4 separate regions of the Homo sapiens genome follow, and regions 1, 3 and 4 are each linked to region 2. The links are contacts of gene promoters, found by promoter capture Hi-C in human tissues and cell types (Jung and others, 2019). All regions are on one chromosome and are shown on one strand. Each heading gives the region's core, a stretch centred on a gene start or on the middle of the fragment in contact. The rest is flanking DNA. Distances are from core to core; before and after follow the strand shown.

Region 1 (2,700 bases), core at 83-2,582, 460 kb after region 2:
TGCCATGTTGGCCAGGCTGGTCACAAACTCCCAGCCTCAAGCGATCTGCCCACCTGGGCCTTCCAAGGTGCTGGGGATTATAGGCGTGAGCCATGGCACCGGGCCCTAAAACAGACCTTAAATCAAAGAATGGTTCCAAGAGGGGCCTGGTATGGTGCCTCACACCTAAAATCCCAGCACTTTGGGAGGCTGAGGCAGGACTGCTTGAAGCCAGGAATTCAGAGACCAGCCTGGGCAACATACCAAGACCTCATGTCTATAAAAAAAATAATAATAGTAATTTTAAAAGTTGGCTGGGCATGGTGTTGCATGCCTGTGCTCCTAGCCACTTGGAAGGCTTGAGCCCAGGAGTTTGAGGCTGTTCTGATCACACCACTGTAGTCCAGCCTGGGTGACAGAGCCAAGACCCTGTGTCTTGAAAGAAAGAGGCTGGGCGCAGTGACTCACGCTTGTAATCCCAGCACTTGCCTTGGGAGGCCGAGGCAGGCAGATCACAAGGTCAGGAGATCGAGACCATCCTGGCTAACACGGTGAAACCCCGTCTCTACTAAAAATACAAAATATTAGCCGGGTGTGGTGGCAGGCGCCTGTAGTCCCAGCGACTCGGGAGGCTGAGGCAGGAGAATGGCGTGAACCCGGGAGGTAGAGCTTGCACTGAGCTGAGATCGCGCCACTGCACTCCAGCCTGGGCGACAGAGCAAGACTCTGTCTCAAAAAAAAAAAAAAAGAAAGAAAAAATGGTTGGGCATGGTGCCTCACACGTCTGTAATCCCAACTTTGGGAGGCCAAGGCGGGAAGATTGCTTAAGCCCAGGAGTTTGAGACTACCCTGGGTAACGTGGTGAGACCTCGTCTCTACCAAAAAAATAAAAATAATCCAAGCATGGTGGCACATGCCTGTAGTCTAAGCTACTCAGGAAGCTGAGGTGGGAGTGTCACTTGAGCCTGGCAGGTCAAAGCTGCAGTGACCTGAGATTGTGCCACTTCACTCCAGCCTGGGTGACAGAGCAAGACACTGTCTCAAAAAAAAAAAAAAAAAAAATGTTTCAAGAGGCAAAGACATATATTAATTAAAGGTTTAACTATAGCAAGAAGATATAACAATTACAAACATTTATGTACCTAACGACAGACCATCAGTATACCCAAAGGAAAACCTGACAGAACTGAAGGGAGAAGTAGACATTTCTATACAGTAATACCTGGAGACTTCAGTACCCCCTCTCAATAATGGATAGAACAACCAGACAGAAAATAAGTAAGGAAATAGTGGACTTAACACAGTAAACCAACTAGATCTCACAGACACAGACAGAATCCTACCTAACAGCAATAGCATACACATTCTTTTCAAGTGTATGTAGGACATTTTCCAGGATACACCATATGTTAGGCTACAGATTAAATATCAGTGGATTTAAAAAATAGATATCAAAGTATCTTCTCCAACCACAATGGGATGAAGTTAAAAATCAATAACAGGTAAAACTGGAAAGGTCACAAAATTGTGGAATTTAACAATCAGTGAATCAAAGAAGAAATCACATGGAAATTAGAAAATACTTATAGATGAATGAACACAACACAGCCTACCAAAACTTATAGGGATCAGTGAAAGCAACATTAAAGGAGAAATTTGTAGCTATAAATGCTTTGATTATAAAACACGGAATCACTGATTGCAGTAGCATGTGCCTATAGTTCCAGCTACTTGGGAGACTGAGGCAGGAGGATTGCTTGAGCCCAGGATTTTGAGGCCAGCTTGGGCAACATAGCAAGACCTTATCTCGGCCGGGCGAGGTGGCTCACGCCTGTAATCCTAGCACTTTGGCAGGCTGAGGCCGGTGGATCACCTGAGGTCAGGAGTTCGAGACCAGCCTGGTCAACATGGCGAAACCCCATCTCTACTAAAAATACAAACATTAGCCAGGCATGATGGTGGACACCTGTAGTCCCAGCTACTCGGGAGGCTGAGGCAGGAGAATCACTTGAACCTGGGAAGCGGAGGTTGCAGTGAGCCAAGATCGCACATTGCACTCCAGCCGGGGCAACAAAGTGAGACTCTGTGTCAAAAAACAAACAAACACCAGTCTCTTTAACAAAAGAAGAGAAACTTAAAATCAACAACCTAACCTTACAACTTAAATAACTAGAAAAAGGACAAACTAAACCTAAAGCTAAAGGAAGTAATAAAGATTAGAGATAAATGAAATAAAGAATAGAAAAACAATAGAGAAAAGTCAAAGAAACCAAAAGGTGGTTCTTCTTTGAAAAGATAAACAAAATTGACAAAGCTTTATTTAGCCAGATGGACTAAGGAAAGAAAGATCGAATTACTAAAATCAGAAGTGAAAGTGAGGGCCGAGCGCGGTGGCTGACACCTATAATCCCAGCACTTTGGGAGGCCGAGGCGGGTGGATCACCTGAGGTGAGGAGTTCGAGACTAGCCTGGCCAATGTGATGAAACCCTGTCTCTACTAAAAATACATAAATTAGCTGGATGTGGTGGTACATGCCTGTAATCCCAGCTACTCAGGAGGCTGAGGCAGGAGAATGGCTTGAACCTAGGAAGCAGAGGTTGCAGCGAGCCAAGATTGCACCACTGCACTCCAGCCTGGGTGACAAGAGCAAACCTCCGACTCAAAAAAAGAAAGTGAAAGTGAGGACATTACTTCCAATTCTGTAGAAATAAAAAGGATTG
Region 2 (2,700 bases), core at 69-2,568:
CCTAACTGTTCCAGACTCTTCTCCCGGCTCCAGAGAGGCCCGAGTCCCCCCCCCTCGGCCTTGGCCCCCACCGCCCTCATCCCGGTACCTGTGTGGCTGGCACGGGACCCTCTCCGTCCCGTCCCCGCCTGCTCCCGCCCCGGCTCACCCCGGCCGCCGGGACCCGACCCCGACCCCGACCCCGACCCCGCCGACCGCACGCGGCCGGACAAAGCGCGCCGCCCCGCGGGCCGGGACAAAGCGGGCGGGGCGCCGGCACCTACCTCGGCGCGGAGCCGCGGCCGGGCGGGCGGGGGCGCGGCGGGCGGGGGCGCACCGGTAGTTGCCGCGCCTGCAGCCCGGCCGCGACGGGCGGTTGCAGGCAGCGGCCGGGCGCACGGCGGGCGGCGGGCGGGCGCTGTCACGGGGCGCAGGCGGCGCGGGGGGCGCGCGGGGCGGGCGGCGGCGGGGCGCGTGGCGGCGGCGCGCGGGCGCGAGCGGCGGGACTGCGGCGCCGCGGAAGGAGGACAATAGCCTCCCCCTGCCGCAGGCCGCCGGCTCCCGCGGGAGGCCCGGGACCATCTGGAGCCGGCGGCCCCGCGGGGCTCTGGGCGGGGCCCGAGTCGCCCCTTCCCCGCCCAGCGCCATGGCAACCGAGGCCCCTCTCGGTGCTCCCCGCCGCTCCCCGCCCGGGGTAGTTGACCTGCCTCGGGGCGAACGCGGCAGCAGCTCCGAGGCCGGCTGCCGACCCCCAGCCACCTTCCGTGCGGGGTCCCCCCAAAACCCCGCCTTCCCGTCCTCGCTGGTCCCTGGGTCCCCCACCACAGCTTACAGGTCTTGATCTCCCCGGTTCGGACACCTCACCTTTGTCCCTATTCTGCTTTTCCTCCAAAATCCGTATCCCCGAGACACGCGATCCTTCCTCTAATGACACTGCCGACGAGGTTTCCCGAGATCCAGCCTCCGTTCCCCTTTCCTCTCCGGGCACCTCCAGTCCGTCTCCGCTAAGCATTCCTCTCACCCGTCCCCTCGCTCTCGCGTCCTCCTTCAGGCAGCTGGGCCGGCTCTCCCTCCCAGAACATCTCCATGGCACAGTGAAGATTCGTCTTCTACAGATCAGATGCTCCAAACAGGCATCTCAGCGCTTCTCAGCTCCTCTCATTTATCAACCAGGAGAATTCCGGCCTAGTCACCGTCTTGAGGGGGGTGGGGGTGGGGGCAGACATTTCTAGGCCTGACACGGCTGGGTTTCTCCTTGGTTTGTTAGCGTCTGAGTGGTCTAAGGTCCAAGGTCCTTAACCAAGGTGAACTGCTGCCTGCTTAGGAGAGGAAGGAATTATGCCCAAATCATGACAAACTCACAGAGTGCCAGGTGGGTGCTAAAAGCGCATCATCTCATGTGACACTCCCACCCCCACTCCAGCTCTGAGAAGTAGGTGCTGTTCTTCCAGATTAGAGAACTCAGCTCAGAGATGAGCCAGTGGTAACAGGGTGAGCTTTGTACAGAGCCGTTAGGTTATGTACTGCCCCTGAAGATGAGGGCCCGTTTCTATCCAGGGAATGCCTGAAATGGTCAAGTAAGGGCACTCAAAGAATGGGCTTTGAGTGAATTATTGGATTTAAGGTTTTATAATAGATTTATGGGTAATTTAGGATTTTGCTCCTTTCTGAAAAGGTATGCATACTGAAACAAATATGTGCAATTGAAGTACTTTCCAGATATGGTTTTGACAACCCTAACTAGTGGTGTCATCTACCTCGCCTTGGTTTTCCTAGTCTATAAAATGGGTTGGGAGGAGGGTTGGGGAGTTCCATTGAAAGATTACTTTGAAGTTCTCTCCTAGCTCTGATATCTGTGCTTCTACCACGAAACTGGAACTGGCTCTCTGGTGTGTACCTCACAGTTAGCTGCATTTGAGGCTATTTATTATTATTATTATTTTGAGACGGAGTCGTGCTCTGTCACCCAGGCTGGAGTACAGTGGCTTGATCTCGGCTCACTGCAACCTCCTCTTCCCGGGTTCAAGCAATTTTCCTGCCTCAGCCTCCCGAGTAGCTGGGATTACAGGTGCATGCCACCATGCCCGACTAATTTTTGTATCTTTAGTAGAGTCAGAGTTTTGCCATGTTGGCCAGGCTGTTCTTGAACTCCTGACCTCAGGTGATCTGCCTGCCTCAGCCTCCCAAAGTGCTGGGATTACAGACGTGAGCTGCCGTGCCAGGCCTGAGGCTATTTATTATTTTTAATAGCCACTCTTTCAGGCAATGGCATTAAAGAAACAAGGGCATAAACTGCAACTCTTCCCAGAGGTAGGATTATGTGTTGGTTGGTTCGGGGGAAGGAGGCACCAACCTGTGCATGACGGTCATCAGGGACACTTGGTCAGGGACATTAAAGCTGATGGGATGAGAATCAGCTGCCCATGGCCAGGCGCAGTGGCTCACCCTTGTAATCCCAGCACTTTGGGAGGCCGAGGCAGGTGGATCGCGAGGTCAGGAGTTCAAGACCAGCCTGGCCAACATGGTGAAACCCCTTCTCTACTAAAAATACACAAATTAGCCAGGCGTGGTGGTGGGCATGAAATCCCAGCTACTCAGGAGGCTGAGGCAGGAGAATCGCTTGAACCCGGGAGGCAGAGGTTGCAGTGAGCTGAGATTGTGCCACTGCACTTCAGCCTGGGCAACAAGAACGAGACTCCATCTCCAAAAAAAAAAAAAAAA
Region 3 (2,700 bases), core at 43-2,542, 260 kb after region 2:
CTGGCCCCTTGTTGTTCCCGGAACCCAACACACATCCCACCTCAGGACCTTTGCACTTGCCCTTCCGTCTACCTGAAATACCTTCCCCGAAATGCCTGCCTCACTTCCTTGCCTCTCTGCTCATTAATTGCCTCATCACAGAGGCCTTCCTTGACCTCTACCAAAAACAGGTCTTGGCTGAGCGAGGTGGCTCATCCCTGTAATCCTGAGAGGTGACAGCGTGCTGGCAGTCCTCAGAGCCCTCGCTTGCTCTCGGCACCTCCTCTGCCTGGGCTCCCACTTTGGCGGCATTTGAGGAGCCCTTCAGCCCACCACTGCACTGTGGGAGCCCCTTTCTGGGCTGGCCAAGGCTGGAGCCCACTCCCTCAGCTTGCAGGGAGGTGTGGAGGGAGAGGCGCGAGCGGGAACGGGGCTCTTGCGGGCCAGCTGGAGTTCCGGGTGGGCGTGGGCTTGGCGGGCCCCCCACTCGGAGCAGCCGGCCAGCCCTGCTGGCCCCGAGCAATGAGGGACTTAGCACCCGGGCCAGCGGCTGCGGAGGGTGTACCGGGTCCCCCAGCAGTGCCAGCCCACCGGCACTGCGCTCGATTTCTCACGAGCCTTAGCTGCCTTCCCGCGGGGCAGGGCTCGGGACCTGCAGCCCGCCATGCCTGAGCCTGCCACCCCCTCCGTGGGCTCCTGTGCGGCCCAGCCTCCCCGACGAGCACCACCCCCTGCTCCAAGGCGCCCAGTCCCATCGACCACCCAAGGGCTGAGGAATGCGAGCGCACGGCGCGGGACTGGCAGGCAGCTCCACCTGCAGCCCCGGTGCGGGATCCACTAGGTGAAGCCAGCTGGGCTCCTGAGTCTGGTGGGGACGTGGAGAGTCTTTATGTCTAGCTCAGGGATTGTAAATACACCAATCAGCACCCTGTGTTTAGCTCAAGGTTTGTGAGTGCACCAATGGACACTCTGTATCTAACTGCTCTGGCGGGGCCTTGGAGAACCTTTACGTCTAGCTCAGGGATTGTAAATACACCAATCGGCACTCTGTATCTAACTCAAGGTTTGTAAACACACCAATCAGCACCCTGTGTTTAGCTCAAGGTTTGTGAATGCACCAATTGACACTCTATCTAGCTGATCTGGTGGAGCCTTGGAGAACCTATGTGTCGAAACTGTATCTAACTAATCTGATGGAGACGTGGAGAACCTTTGTATCTAGCTCAGGGATTGTAAAGGCACCAATCAGCGCCCTGTCAAAACAGACCACTGGGCTCTACCAATCAGCAGGATGTGGGTGGGGCCAGATAAGAGAATAAAAGCAGGCTGCGGGAGCCGGCTGTGGCAACCCACTAGGGTCGCCTGCTGCACTGTGGAAGCTTTGTTCTTTTGCTCTTTGCAATAAATCTTGCTACTGCTCACTCTTTGGGTCCACACTGCTTTTATAAGCTGTAACACTCACCGCGAAGGTCTACAGCTTCACTCCTGAAGCCAGCGAGACCATGAGCCCACCGGGAGGAACGAACAACTCCAGGCGGCACTGCCTTAGGAGCTCATCGCGAAGGTCTGTAGCTTCACTCCTGAGCCAGCGAGACCACGAACTCACCAGAAGGAAGAAACTCCGAACACATCTGAACATCAGAAGGAACAAACTCCAGAAGCACCACCTTAAGAGCTGTAACACTCACTGCGAGGGTCCGCGGCTTCATTCTTGAAGTCAGTGAGACCAAGAACCCACCAATTCCAGATGCAATCCCAGCACTCTTGGAGTCTGAGGTGGATGGAACACTTGAGGCCAGGAGTTCGAGACCAGCCTGCACAACATGGCAAAACCCCATCTCTACTAAAAATACAAAAATTAGCCTGGCATGGTGGCACACTCCTGTAATCCTAGCTACTCGGGAGGCTGAGGCAGGAGAATTGCTTGAACCCGGGAGGTGGGGTTGCAGTCAGCCAAGATTGTGCCACTGCACTCCAGCCTCCAACAACTCAGTCTCCAACAACAACAACAACAAACCCAGCTCTCCCCAACCCATCCTTTCTCTCTGTTCCTTACCTGTTTATTCTGGCTGACATTTACTTATCGTCTCCCCCACCAGAATGTCAGCTCCATGAGACAGGAATTTGATATGTTTTGTGTCCTGCTGTATTCCCAATACCTGGTGCTTAATAGATGCTCATTTAATAGCTGTTAACTGAGGCCGGGCATGGTGGCTCAGACCTATAATCCCAGCATTTTGAGAGGCTGAGGTGGGCGGATCACCTGAGGTCGGGAGTTTGAGAACAGTCTGACCAACATGGAGAAACCCCGTCTCTACTAAAAATATAAAAATTAGCCAGTTGTGGTGGTGCATGCCTGTAATCTCAGGTACTTGGGAGGCTGAGGCAAGAGAATCGCTTGAACCTGGGAAGTGGAGGTTGCAGTGAGCCGAGATCATGCCATTGCACTCCAGCCTGGGCAACAGAGTGAGACTCCACCTCAAAAAAAAAAAAAAAGTTGTTAACTGACTTGAATGAATGAATGACTTATTGAATGAGGTTTCAGCATCCAAAAGAGTTTAGGAAACTTCATGGAAGGAGGCTTACTTGGGTCAGGTAGCGGAACTTGAGAATTTGGGGTTCCCTCTCTAATCTTTTGAATTTACTGGCACATGTCTGCCCTGACTCTCTTTGTTTTTTTTGTTTTTTTTGTTTTTTTTTTTTTTTTTTGAGACAGAGTCT
Region 4 (2,700 bases), core at 44-2,543, 310 kb after region 2:
TGGCGGTGATGCAGGGCAAGGACCTCCTGGAGCGGGAGGAGGCCAGCTTCGAGTCCTGCTTCATGCGCGTCAGCCTGCTGCCGGACGAGCAGATCGTGGGCATTTCTCGGGTAAGTGGGGCTCAGGGCGGGGCAGAAGGGTGCTCTGGGCTCACTAGATGCCTCCCAGGCAGGCATGGCGGTGGGGCCCGGCAGGATCCCAGAAAGGCAGTAGAGTGCAAGTATGGATGCTGATCCCAGAGCTGAAGCTTCAGACTGTAGAGGGAGCTCTGTACAGAGCTGGGAGGTGGGGGGCTCCACCTGAAGGCTCCCATTGTGTGGAGTTCTTAGCGGTCCCACCAGGTGAATACAGAATGTGGCAACTGTCGTTGTCCACATCTGCCCTGTGTCAACATGGGGTCCCGGCAGAAAAGGGATGACATGCTTAAGAAGGCTAATTTGGGGAGGGCTTAATAACAGGACTGGGGCTGGTTGTGGTGGCTCATGCCTCTAATCTCAGCACTTTGGGAGGCCGAGGCGGGCAGATCATGAGGTCAGGAGATCGAGACCATCCTGCCTAACACGGTGAAACCCCATCTCTACTAAAATACAAAAAATTAGCCGGGCGTGGTGGCGGGCACCTGTAGTCCCAGCTACTCGGGAGGCTGAGGCAGGAGAATGGCGTGAACCTGGGAGGCAGAGCTTGCAGTGAGCCGAGATCGTGCCACTGCACTCCAGCCTGGGCGACAGAGGGAGACTCTGTCTCAAAATAAATAAATAAATAAAAATAAAACAGGACTGTCCAGGTACAGTGATTCATGCCTGTAATCCCAGCACTTTGGGAGGCCAAGGTGGGAGGATTGCTTGAGCCTAACCAGGAGTTCAAGGCCAGCCTAGGCAACATGGCAAAACTCCTTCTCTACCAAAAAAAATAAAATAAAATAAAATAAATTAGCTGGCTGTGGTAGTGCCAGCTAATTTATAGTCCCAGCTACTTGGGAGGCTGAGATGGGAGGATCACTTGAGCCCAGGAGGTTGAGGCTGCAATGAGCCACGATTGCACCACTGCACTCCAGCCTGGGTGACAGAATGAGACCCTATCTCAAAAAATAAAAATAGGGCCAGGTGCAGTGGCTCACACCTGTAATCCCAGCCCTTTGGAGGCTGAGGCAGGTGGATCACCTGAGGTCAGATGTTTGAGACCAGCCTGGCCAATATGGTGAAACCCCGTCTCTACTAAAAATACAAAAATTAGCAGGGCATGTGGTGCACACCTGTAATCCCAGCTATTGAGGTGGCTGAGGCAGGAGAATTGCATGAACTCAGGAGGCGGAGGTTGCAATGAGCCGAGATCATGCCACTGCACTCCAGCCTGGGCGACAGAGTGAGACTCCGTCTCAAAAATAATAAATAAATAAATAAATTTTAAAAATGAAAATAATAAGACCATTTAGAGTGGTGCGGATGGGGTGTGGGGCAGCCTCAGGGATGGCATGGTACCCTGGAAGGGCGTAACAGGAGGGGCTGTCCCACTCTAGATCTGAAGGGGTGAGGGGAAGGTGAGGTTACTGGGCCCAAAAGGATAGAGGGCCACCTTGTGTGGAGAGGGCTACCTTGGTGGAAGCTCTGCCCTTTGGCCAAGGGACATGGTCATCCCGCAACAATACTGCAGAGAGGGACTTCCCTCCCCCTCCAGTTTCCTTCTGGTGACCTCCACTGGCTGACCCAACCAGAAGCCAAAGGCCAAGGGAACCTGTTGACACAGCCCATGGAGGTCAACTCTCAGGGCCAGAGCAGAGGGGGGAAGGGTGGAGAATAAAGCGTGAGGGGCAGGGAAGGTGCCCAGTCCCTTAGGCTACCCTCCACACATCGCTGTAACTCACAGAACCAAGCCAACAGAGCCACATCTGGGCTGAAGGGTGGGGATAGCCTGTGAGCAGAGTGCGAGGAGGGCGTGTTTAGGGCATCAAGTTGGGGTGGCCCAGCTTCTGAGAGGCAGTATAGTGGGCGATTAGGAGCAGGACCCTGGAGCCTGACTGCCTGGGTTCAAATCCTTGTTCCACCTCTTCCTAGCAGTATGATCTTGGTTAAGTCAGTTTAGTACCCCATGACTCCGTTTCCCCATCTGTCAAATGGGCATCATGGTTATTGAGGAAGAGATGGGTTAATGTATGTGAAGTTCTTAGCCCAGCCTGGGTCAGTGCCTAGCAGGTTGGCTCTCAGGACCGTGCAGAGCTCCTGTCGTGCCCAGCCATGTTGCCTGTGGTTTGGGGACGCATTCCTTGAGGAGAGACATTGGCAGACAGCAGCCGCCACAGCCTGATGTGTGCTGAGAACCTGGTTCACAGAGCCCAGTGCATCCATGATTCTCTCATTAGCCCCTGACGCCAACAGGACAGATTGTTAGGGCATCTTACAGATGAGGAAACCGAGGCTCGGGAAAGTGCTTTGCCCAAGACAACGCCAGTAAGGAAGCAGGAGGTCCAGGACTCAAACCCAGGGTTCCATCCTCCTCCACCCATGTGCACATAAAGCACACGCTCAGAGAATGGCTGGTTGGGGAGCCCAGGCCCCCATGAGCAGGGGACAGCTGAGAGGCTAATTTAGCCGAAGGAGGGAGAGGCAGAGCCAGATCATGAAGAGCCTGAATGCCGAGGTCAGGAGGTCAGGAGGCCAGGTGGGCTTTATCACTTGGGGGCAAGGAGCCCTTCAAGAGCAGGGG

The links. Contacts are between HindIII fragments. The study calls those that stand out against the background at their distance.
Region 1: a fragment that was not itself captured here is called in contact with the fragment with the promoter of SPTBN2 in region 2 in 1 of the 25 tissues and cell types used here (adrenal gland).
Region 3: a contact is called between a fragment that was not itself captured here and the fragment with the promoter of SPTBN2 in region 2, in 1 of the 25 tissues and cell types used here (pancreas).
Region 4: a contact is called between a fragment that was not itself captured here and the fragment with the promoter of SPTBN2 in region 2, in 1 of the 25 tissues and cell types used here (thymus).

What each region holds. Positions count from the first base shown.
Region 1 is chr11:67,187,770-67,190,469 of GRCh38, forward strand. The region is part of intron 5 of KDM2A (lysine demethylase 2A); the gene reads left to right. Among named protein-coding and RNA genes, the nearest start is that of KDM2A, 70 kb to the left of the region's middle. The HindIII fragment of the contact is 3,563 bases long and covers 1-2,700 here.
Region 2 is chr11:66,727,898-66,730,597 of GRCh38, forward strand. It overlaps SPTBN2 (spectrin beta, non-erythrocytic 2), which reads right to left and starts at 1,319. Exons shown (of 38, transcript NM_006946.4): 1 at 844-1,319. The HindIII fragment of the contact is 42,487 bases long and covers 1-2,700 here.
Region 3 is chr11:66,988,417-66,991,116 of GRCh38, forward strand. No RefSeq gene overlaps it. Among named protein-coding and RNA genes, the nearest start is that of C11orf86, 14 kb to the left of the region's middle. The HindIII fragment of the contact is 4,619 bases long and covers 1-2,700 here.
Region 4 is chr11:67,040,094-67,042,793 of GRCh38, forward strand. It overlaps SYT12 (synaptotagmin 12), which reads left to right. Exons shown (of 8, transcript NM_177963.4): 4 at 1-110. Among named protein-coding and RNA genes, the nearest start is that of MIR6860, 4.2 kb to the right of the region's middle. The HindIII fragment of the contact is 3,922 bases long and covers 1-2,700 here.